Linked DNA regions of Homo sapiens: regions 1 and 3 are each linked to region 2. The links are contacts of gene promoters, found by promoter capture Hi-C in blood cells and fetal thymus (Javierre and others, 2016). All regions are on one chromosome and are shown on one strand. Each heading gives the region's core, a stretch centred on a gene start or on the middle of the fragment in contact. The rest is flanking DNA. Distances are from core to core; before and after follow the strand shown.

Region 1 (2,700 bases), core at 181-2,680, 69 kb before region 2:
TCTTTCTGTTTATTCACCAGCATGACTGGAGGCATAGTACTAGGCTAAGGTTTATGAAAAGCTTGATATTTAATAAATCCTGAAAATATCTGATTCTTTTCATTAATCCAAAAATCCTTCATTTTGCAATTTTTTTCAGATCCATTTACATTATGTTCAGATATAATAAATAAAGAAGTAGTCAGTTTTCTAGCAACTCCCAGTTGTTCCGAAATGTTGACGTATAGGTGCTCAGGTAAGTATTTTTTTAATTGCAGTTGTTTCACAGTCAAAGCCTTTTATGATATTAACTAGAATTTTTTTTTTTTTTTGATACAGAGTCTTACTCTGTCACCCAGGCTGGAGTGCAGTGGCGCGATCTTGGCTCACTGCACTCTCCACCTCCCAGGTTCAAGTAATTCTTGTGCCTCAGCCTCCCAAGTAGCTGGGATTACAGGTGCCCACTACCACACCTGGCTAATTTTTTTTTTTTTTTTGTATTTTTTCGTAGAGCAGGTTTTACCATGTTGGCCAAACTGATCTTGAACTCCTGACCTCAAATGATCTGCCTGCCTCAGCCTCTCAAAGTGCTGGTGTTACAGACATGAGCCACCACGCTTATTGTAATTAACTAGAATTTATAATAGTTCTACATGTATGATTTACTTTGTTCCCTTTGGAGAAATAATACTGTGGAATATCAAAGCATTCAAATTAATATCTTCTATCTGGGCCAGGTGAGGCAGCTGTAATCTCAACACTTTGGAAGGCCAAGGCTGGAGGATTTCTTGAGGCCAGGAGTTCAAAACCAGCATGGTCAACATAGCGAGACCTTGTCTCTATAATTAAAAACAAAGCAAAACAAAAAAAACACCTTTTATCAGCATCAGGCTGAGCTTCCAATATTTGTATGTATGAATAAACACAGTTAGTACCTTTTTATTACTTTATTATCTTTTTGTCTTAATACCATCTATGAATTTAACCTTACTGAGTAAAATAAACATTTTTTAATGTTTTCAGAGAGCCGTTATTACTAGGTATGCATTCTGGATTATCCTGTAAACATAGGCATTAAGTTTTAAAAATACCTATTTTTATATTTATAATATGTAAATGTTTCTACTGTTTCATGTTCATTATTTGTTTTTTCTGCAGGGCTCTTGTAAATGTTCCACAATACTTATTCCATCCCTTCTCCTCCTCCTTCACACCCCGGTATTTCCTCTTTTTTCATCTTGCTGTTGTACTCTGCTCTATGGACAAAATTGAGGTTCTCTATATTCGGCTCAGAACATCATTGTTCTTCCCTCTTGGATGAAGAGGTTATCTCTATTCTTCTAAAACTGATGTCCAGCCATAAGCTGAATCTCATATCTTTTTTTTCTCCACATTTTAATACTAATTGCAAAATCTTTCTCTTCACTTCCATTCTATTCATTAACTCCTTTTGTTCCACCTTGAACTATGCTCATTTTTCCTCATCTTAAAAAAATACCCGGCCGGGCGCGGTGGCTCACGCCTGTAATCCCAGCACTTTGGGAGGCCGAGGCGGGTGGATCATGAGGTCAGGAGATCGAGACCATCCTGGCTAACAAGGTGAAACCCCGTCTCTACTAAAAATACAAAAAATTAGCCGGGCGCGGTGGCGGGCGCCTGTAGTCCCAGCTACTCGGGAGGCTGAGGCAGGAGAATGGCGTGAACCCGGGAAGCGGAGCTTGCAGTGAGCCGAGATTGCGCCACTGCAGTCCGCAGTCCGGCCTGGGCGACAGAGCGAGACTCCGTCTCAAAAAAAAAAAAAAAAAAAAAAAAAAAAAAAAATACCCAATAGTTTGTTTGATTTGCTATCCTTTCAATTATTCATCCACTCCTCCCAGCAGATGCACATATACCATTAGAAAGTAAATGTATTAGGCCGGGTGTGGTGGCTCATGTCTGTAATCCTAGCACTTTGGGAGGCCGAGGCGGGTGGATTACCTGAGCTCAGGAGTTCAAGACCAGCCTGGTCAACACGGTGAAACCCCGTCTCTACTAAAATACAAAAAATTAGCTGGGCATGGCAGCATGAGCCAGTAATCCCAGCTACTCGGGAGGCTGAGACAGGAGAATTGCTTGAACCTGGGAGGCAGAGGTTGCAGTGAGCTGAGATCATGCCATTGCACTCCAGCCTTGGTGACAGAGCGAGATTCTGTCTCCAAAAAAAAAAAAAGAAAGAAAGAAAGTAAATGTATTTAATAAGAATAAAAAAGTACAAATATTTCTTTCAGTTTAATTGTATTATTTTTTCAAATGGCTACTAAGTTGTTAGAACATAAATACTTATTAAGTTGTCTTGGATCTGACAGAATCATTAGGCATTTCTTTTGGCTTAGAGGTGCCATGAACCTAGAAAGTTTGGGAATCTCTGGTCAAAAGTATTCTAGGTGGCAAAGTGGATGTTCTGTAATTGCTTAGTTTGTATGAGATGGTTATTTCCTTGTTCCTTTCTCCCCTAGTTACCATTCATTCATTCCACAAACATTATGGAGTGCTTAGTCCTTGGCTGGCACTGGAATCGAAGATGAATAGAACTCAGTCTTCACCTTTATCTCTCTCTTCCTGCCAGATTGCCACAAGTATTCTCCTCAAGACCTAGTCTATAGCACCTACGCAGTTCTTTCACTACATTTACTTTTGTAGCATCATCTATCATTTTATTGATGGTTTTCAAATATGTATCTT
Region 2 (2,700 bases), core at 94-2,593:
AGTAGAACAATTATTTAAAGTATACGAGAAGATGTGTGTAGGTTATATGTAAATACTACACCATTTTATATAAAGGATTTGAGAGCATCTTCAGATTTTGGTATTTGAGGGGGTCCTGAAAACAAGCTCCCTCTCTTGCCCCCATACAGAAGGACAACAGTATTAGAGTCACTGTCCTTCCTATCTTTGAAAAAGTTGAGGGCTGGGCATGGTCAGTCACACCTGTAATCCCAGCAATTTGGGAGGCTGAGGCAGGAGGATCCCCTGAGCCCGGGAGTTCGAGATCAGCCTGGGCAACACAGTGAGGCCCTATCTCTACAAAAATAATGATGATGAAAATAATAAATAACTTTTTTTTAAAAAAAGAAAAAGTAGGAACCTGGGCTCTGCCCACCAATGAACTGTGTGACCTTGGACAAGCTACTTCCAGTCTGCAGCCTTAGTCTCTTCTTCTGTAAAATAGAAATAACAACGATACGTTCTTCAAGCGCCTTGCTCAGTGCCTAGAACATGGCAAGCTCTCGGTATTTGTGGTTGTGGAAGGGTTCAATATCAAAGCGACACTTCTTAGTCAGTGTTTTACTTAGCTTAAAATTAGCCTTCACACTTGAATTGTAAATTGGTCCCTAATTAATGCCCTTCGGGGCAAAATCTGTGTTTAACCTTACTTTATGCGTAGACAGAGCTAGCAAAGCTTTTCAGCTGAGAGGAGAGGAACATGTCAGTCGCCTGGGTCAGGCCGGCGGGGACAACCTGCAGTGGGGCGGCTCCTCACCCTGCCCCGCCCGCCCCTGGCCTCGGAACCGGTTTGTTCCAGGCGCCCAGCGTGAGAACACAGGCACTTACCCACCTCTCGTCGGCCCAATAGTCTGAGTCAAGCCCACCCTGGCCACGCACCGTTCCCGGCACCCGGGTGGCGCAGCCCGTCTCTGTCTTTACCGAGAAGCTCCCCACCCTATGCGTCGAGGACCCCACTTTCTTCAAAGGAGAACCTGAGGCAGCGTCTGGGAAAGCAACTCCATGGCCTCCAGGTCCACCTCGACCCTTTCCTCAGCCCCAAGACCCCGCTGCCTGAACCCCATCGCCCCGCGTGCCGGGATCGCCAGCGCCCACCAGCGGCTCCCGCCCCGGCTCTAGGCGCAGGTGGGGGCGGGGCCAGGGCGGGGCCTGAGGAGCCGGCGCCCCGCCTCGCCCCGCCCCTCCCCGAGGCCCGCGGCGCCGCCGCCTCCACCTCGCTCGAGCCGCGGAGCGCCTCCGAGCGGCCGGCTGCGGCCTGGCTCCGCCTCTCCCGGCCCGGCGCGCCCGCTCCCGCCTCCTTCCCTCTCCTGGCTCCCACCTCCCTCCCTTTCCGCTGCCGAGGCGGCGGGAGCCGAGCCCGAGCGGACCGAGCCGCAGCCGCAGCCGGGCGGCGGGCGAGAGGCGGCGGCGGCGGGCGGGCCGCGGGCAGTCAGTCGGGCGGCGGCGGCGGCGGCGGCGGCGGCGATGCGGCGGCCCCGCTGAGTCCGCCCGCTCCTGGCGCCGGGAGCCAGCCGCGCGAGGCGGCCCGGGCCGGGCGGCAGCATGCGGAGCGGCGAGGAGCTGGACGGCTTCGAGGGCGAGGCCTCGAGCACCTCCATGATCTCGGGCGCCAGCAGCCCGTACCAGCCCACCACCGAGCCGGTGAGCCAGCGCCGCGGGCTGGCCGGCCTGCGCTGCGACCCCGACTACCTGCGCGGCGCGCTCGGCCGCCTCAAGGTCGCCCAAGTGGTAGGTGCCGGGCGGGGCCCCAGGTGCCCGAGGGCGGCCTAGCCGCACGCCTCCCTCCCCGCCCCGCTGCGGGGCCTCCGCCGCGTACCCGCTTGCCCAGGCCGGAGCCCGCTCCTCGCGCCCCCTCTCCCTCGTGGGGTCCCGGGACCACTCTGCAGCCTTCTCTGGGGACCCCGCCTTCGGCCAGAGCCTGCCCTTCCCAGGCCGGCAGCCTCAGGTGTGCGCCTCCTACCTGAGCACCTGCCTTCGGGCCTACCTGTCCGCTCCGCCCTCGCTCCCGGGAGTCTGTGGCGTTACTGGGCTGGGTGCTGCTGGGAATCCTGCTGTCTCCTGGGTACAGCTGGTCTTAGCAACCTGTGGCAGGTTTTCCCGGCCCGCGCAACCTCCGGACGGTGCCTGTTTCTGCCTGCGGAGACGAGGGACTGTGGTTTGGTTCCCACTTGATGTCTAGCTGGGTGCCAGGCGTATATGGTAGGCGCTTAGTAAGTATTTGCTGGATGGAGGCAGGTAGCCCTGATGCAGTGGAGGAGCCCAGATATGCCCACAATTCTCTACACTGCAGAGGTTTGTGTCCTTCTAACCAAGAAGACAGACTTGGCATCCCGGAATCCACCGCCCAGCACGGTGGCTGGCACTGCCCAATTGGTACCCAGAGTTAAATCTGGGAGGGCAGCCAGTTTTGGAGGTAGCAGAAACAGAGAACTTTCTGTTGGACTTGTCTGTAGTAGAGCTCATTTCTCAGGGTCCTGTGTTTTAGCTTCCAGGGTGTTCTGGGCAGGGGCCTCTCAGCTCTGTTCCTGCTTTGTGGTTTTGTAACATGCCTCTGCGGGCAATTGCTTAGCTCTGTTGTGGGCATGCTCTAATTCAGAAAAACCCGTGTGTCCCCCCAACATTCTCTGTCACAGGTAGGCCTTCTGAGGCCACCGGCCTCAAAACTTTATAGACTTCTCATAG
Region 3 (2,700 bases), core at 137-2,636, 120 kb after region 2:
CACTGCAAGCTCTGCCTCCCGGGTTCATGCCATTCTCCTGCCTCAGCCTCCTGAGAAGCTGGGACTACAGGCACACATCACTGTGCCTGGCTTCTTGACACCTCTTTTATTATTTTTTAGACAGGGTCTCACTCTGTCACTCAGATTGGAGTGCAGTGGCACCATCAGAGCTCTCTGTAGCCTTGACCTCCTGGGTTCAAGCCATCCTCCCACCTCAGCCTCCTGAGTAGCTGGAACAACAGGCATGTGCCACCATGCTTGGCTAATTTTTAAATTTTTTTGTAGAGACAGGGTCTCCCTATGTTGTCCAGTCTGGTCTCAAACTCCTGGACCAAAGGGACCCATCCACCTCAGCCTCCCAACGTGCTGGGATTACAGGTGTGAGCCACCACACCCAGCCCAACAACCACTGATGGATGTTCTCACTCATTGTTCTGTCTCAATCTCTTATTTTCTCTCTCTCTGTGTGCTGTGTTCTGGGTAATTTCCCCATACCTTTCAGTTAACAGTTCCCTCCTTCAGCTATGTCTGATCTGTTTTTGAATTCATCTATTGACATTTTTATTTCAATAACTATATTTTCTATTCTAGACACTGTACTTTTTAAAAATCTGTCTATTTTGTCCTCATAGTGTCTTACTCTTTTCTCAGGACTCTTATGTCTATAATCCCTTAAAATATATTATTATTTTCAGACAGCTCTTCTATTATCTCATATTCTCAGGATTCTAATCCATTTGTTGTGTTTGTTGATTCTTAGTAATGGGGATTTTTTAAAATCAGGTGTTTAGTAGTTTTGAATTATTAGTTCATTTTTGACAAGGTTTTCCCCCCACCCCCACTGTGAGAATCTCTTCATGCCTTGATTGTGATTTTGCATTTGTTTCTATCAGGAGTCCAAGGATATCAGCAGAATGTCATCAGACTGGGATCAGTTTTTATGGTAATTCCCAGGGATGAAGGTTTCTGGGCTGCATGAAGGTTTCTAGGCTGCAGATAACAAAAATTCAAACTCCAATCTGTACAAAGGGCAGGCTTAAGCTTTCTATTTCTCAAGGAAGACTTCCTCTCCGCCCACTCAAAGCTCAGGCAGAGATGAACATGTTTTCTTATTCCTCTGTGTTGGGAATAAGAAGGGTATGTGTCTTTGTCCATCTTTTCCCTAAGGAGGTAGTCTTTCCAGGGCGCTGGCTTTATACAGGGTTTTCAGTTCTAAATTCCCACTTTGCTTAGGATCAAGGCCTTATTTCCTGACTTGAGAGTGCATGAAAATCCAGGCTGTAGGTTCCTGAGACAATACCTCTTGGACCATTCCCACTCATACTTTGTAGCTTATGTGATCACTGCCCTGTTTGCCATTTCTGGCGCCTGTGTGTTTTCATTTCTTTTTTGCCAGCTCATTCATTCAGTTAAAGCAATACTGGTTACATTTCCCCTGGTATTTTTAGGTAAGCACAGTGGGAAGATGTTCAGGGTTCATTGGTTTTTCATCTTGCTGGAACTAAAAATGTCTTCTCAGGCTCCTTGTTTAGGAACTTGTCCTCTGCCTGTCCTTTTACCTTGTCCTCTGCTTGTCCCTTTTCTGAGAGTCCTTATTTGGCCCTCCTGTCCTTTCTCCCTGTATCGGAGGTCCTCATCTGCTTCACCAAGACCTCTGGATCCCTGGACCCTAATAGTTTTTAACAAGAAGGCAGGATGAAATGTACTCATAAAGCTAAGTTTGAAGCTTTTTTCTGCTACTTACCAGCTGAGTGACCTGGGGGCAAGTTACTTGGCCATTCTAGGCCAATTTCCTCATGTGTAACGTGAGTGAAACAGTGAACAAGAGGGCTCTGGAGGCAGGCTGTGAATGTGCAATGAACAAAGGGACTTGGGAATTGGGGTCTTCATTGACTGGCAAGGGGTTAGGTGGTTGTGCCCTGTGGTTAAACAGGTGATGGGCAGGGATTCAATTCCATGAGTCCTCAGGCACGGTGTCAAGCAATTTACATTTAATCCTCAGGATTGAATGTCAGTTCTGCAAGGAATGTGACTGTCTCATGTTACAGATGAGGAAACAGGCTGGGAATGGTTTAGTAACTTGCCCAGTTCTGTCTCTTTCCACTAGATGACTGCTTTGGGCTGAACATCCTTCTGATCCAAACATCCTTTATAGGGATATTCACTGGAGACCTAACGCTGCTTTAGAAGTGATTTTTAAAAAAAATTCCCATTTTGTTTTATTTTATTGACTTATGGGAGAGTAATTTTCTTCTTTGAATTTTGGGAATGGGGTCCTTCTGGGGTGATCTCCTGTCAAGTGTGAGCTGGCACAGGAGTTCGGAGGAACAGCTGGTTGCTACACCTCCCCTTCCCCTAAAGAGAACAAAGGCTCAGGCCCTCTTTGACCACCAGGTAAGTAAGAGTTCCCCACTCTCACTCCAACACACAGATAGGCTTTTTGGAGCATTTTCTGCCTAGCTACCCCTCTTGCACCCAGCTGCCTCTGCCTGGGCCCCACTGATGTTCTGAGTCCCTGACCCAGGCACAGATATGGGAGGTGAGGTGTGTCTCTCTGTTTGGTGACTTTCCAGGTGCCAAGACACACCTGATCAGCATTCTGGATGCAGGCACTCCCCATCACCCCTTACTTACAGAAATGGGCCACAGGATGAAGGGTATGTATCTATGAATGGCAAAGCTGTACAGTAAGATGAAGAA

The links. The method cuts DNA at HindIII sites, captures the fragments that hold promoters and counts their contacts. A CHiCAGO score of 5 or more calls a contact.
Region 1: a fragment that was not itself captured here is called in contact with the fragment with the promoter of CMTM4 in region 2 in 1 of 17 cell types (naive B cells); the score reaches 5.0 in naive B cells.
Region 3: a fragment that was not itself captured here is called in contact with the fragment with the promoter of CMTM4 in region 2 in 5 of 17 cell types (naive CD8 T cells, activated CD4 T cells, non-activated CD4 T cells and 2 more); the score reaches 6.4 in naive CD8 T cells.

The regions. Positions count from the first base shown.
Region 1 is chr16:66,764,950-66,767,649 of GRCh38, reverse strand. It overlaps TERB1 (telomere repeat binding bouquet formation protein 1), which reads left to right. Exons shown (of 19, transcript NM_001136505.2): 16 at 140-235. Among named protein-coding and RNA genes, the nearest start is that of DYNC1LI2-DT, 15 kb to the right of the region's middle. The HindIII fragment of the contact is 2,733 bases long and covers 64-2,700 here.
Region 2 is chr16:66,695,386-66,698,085 of GRCh38, reverse strand. CMTM4 (CKLF like MARVEL transmembrane domain containing 4) reads left to right here and starts at 1,343. Exons shown (of 4, transcript NM_181521.3): 1 at 1,343-1,746. The coding sequence starts at 1,561. RefSeq lists silencers at 701-780, 811-870, 1,111-1,450, 1,541-1,830 and an enhancer at 1,301-2,140. The HindIII fragment of the contact is 10,204 bases long and covers 697-2,700 here.
Region 3 is chr16:66,580,119-66,582,818 of GRCh38, reverse strand. It overlaps CMTM2 (CKLF like MARVEL transmembrane domain containing 2), which reads right to left. Exons shown (of 4, transcript NM_144673.3): 2 at 2,635-2,700. Among named protein-coding and RNA genes, the nearest start is that of CMTM2, 2.0 kb to the right of the region's middle. The HindIII fragment of the contact is 685 bases long and covers 1,044-1,728 here.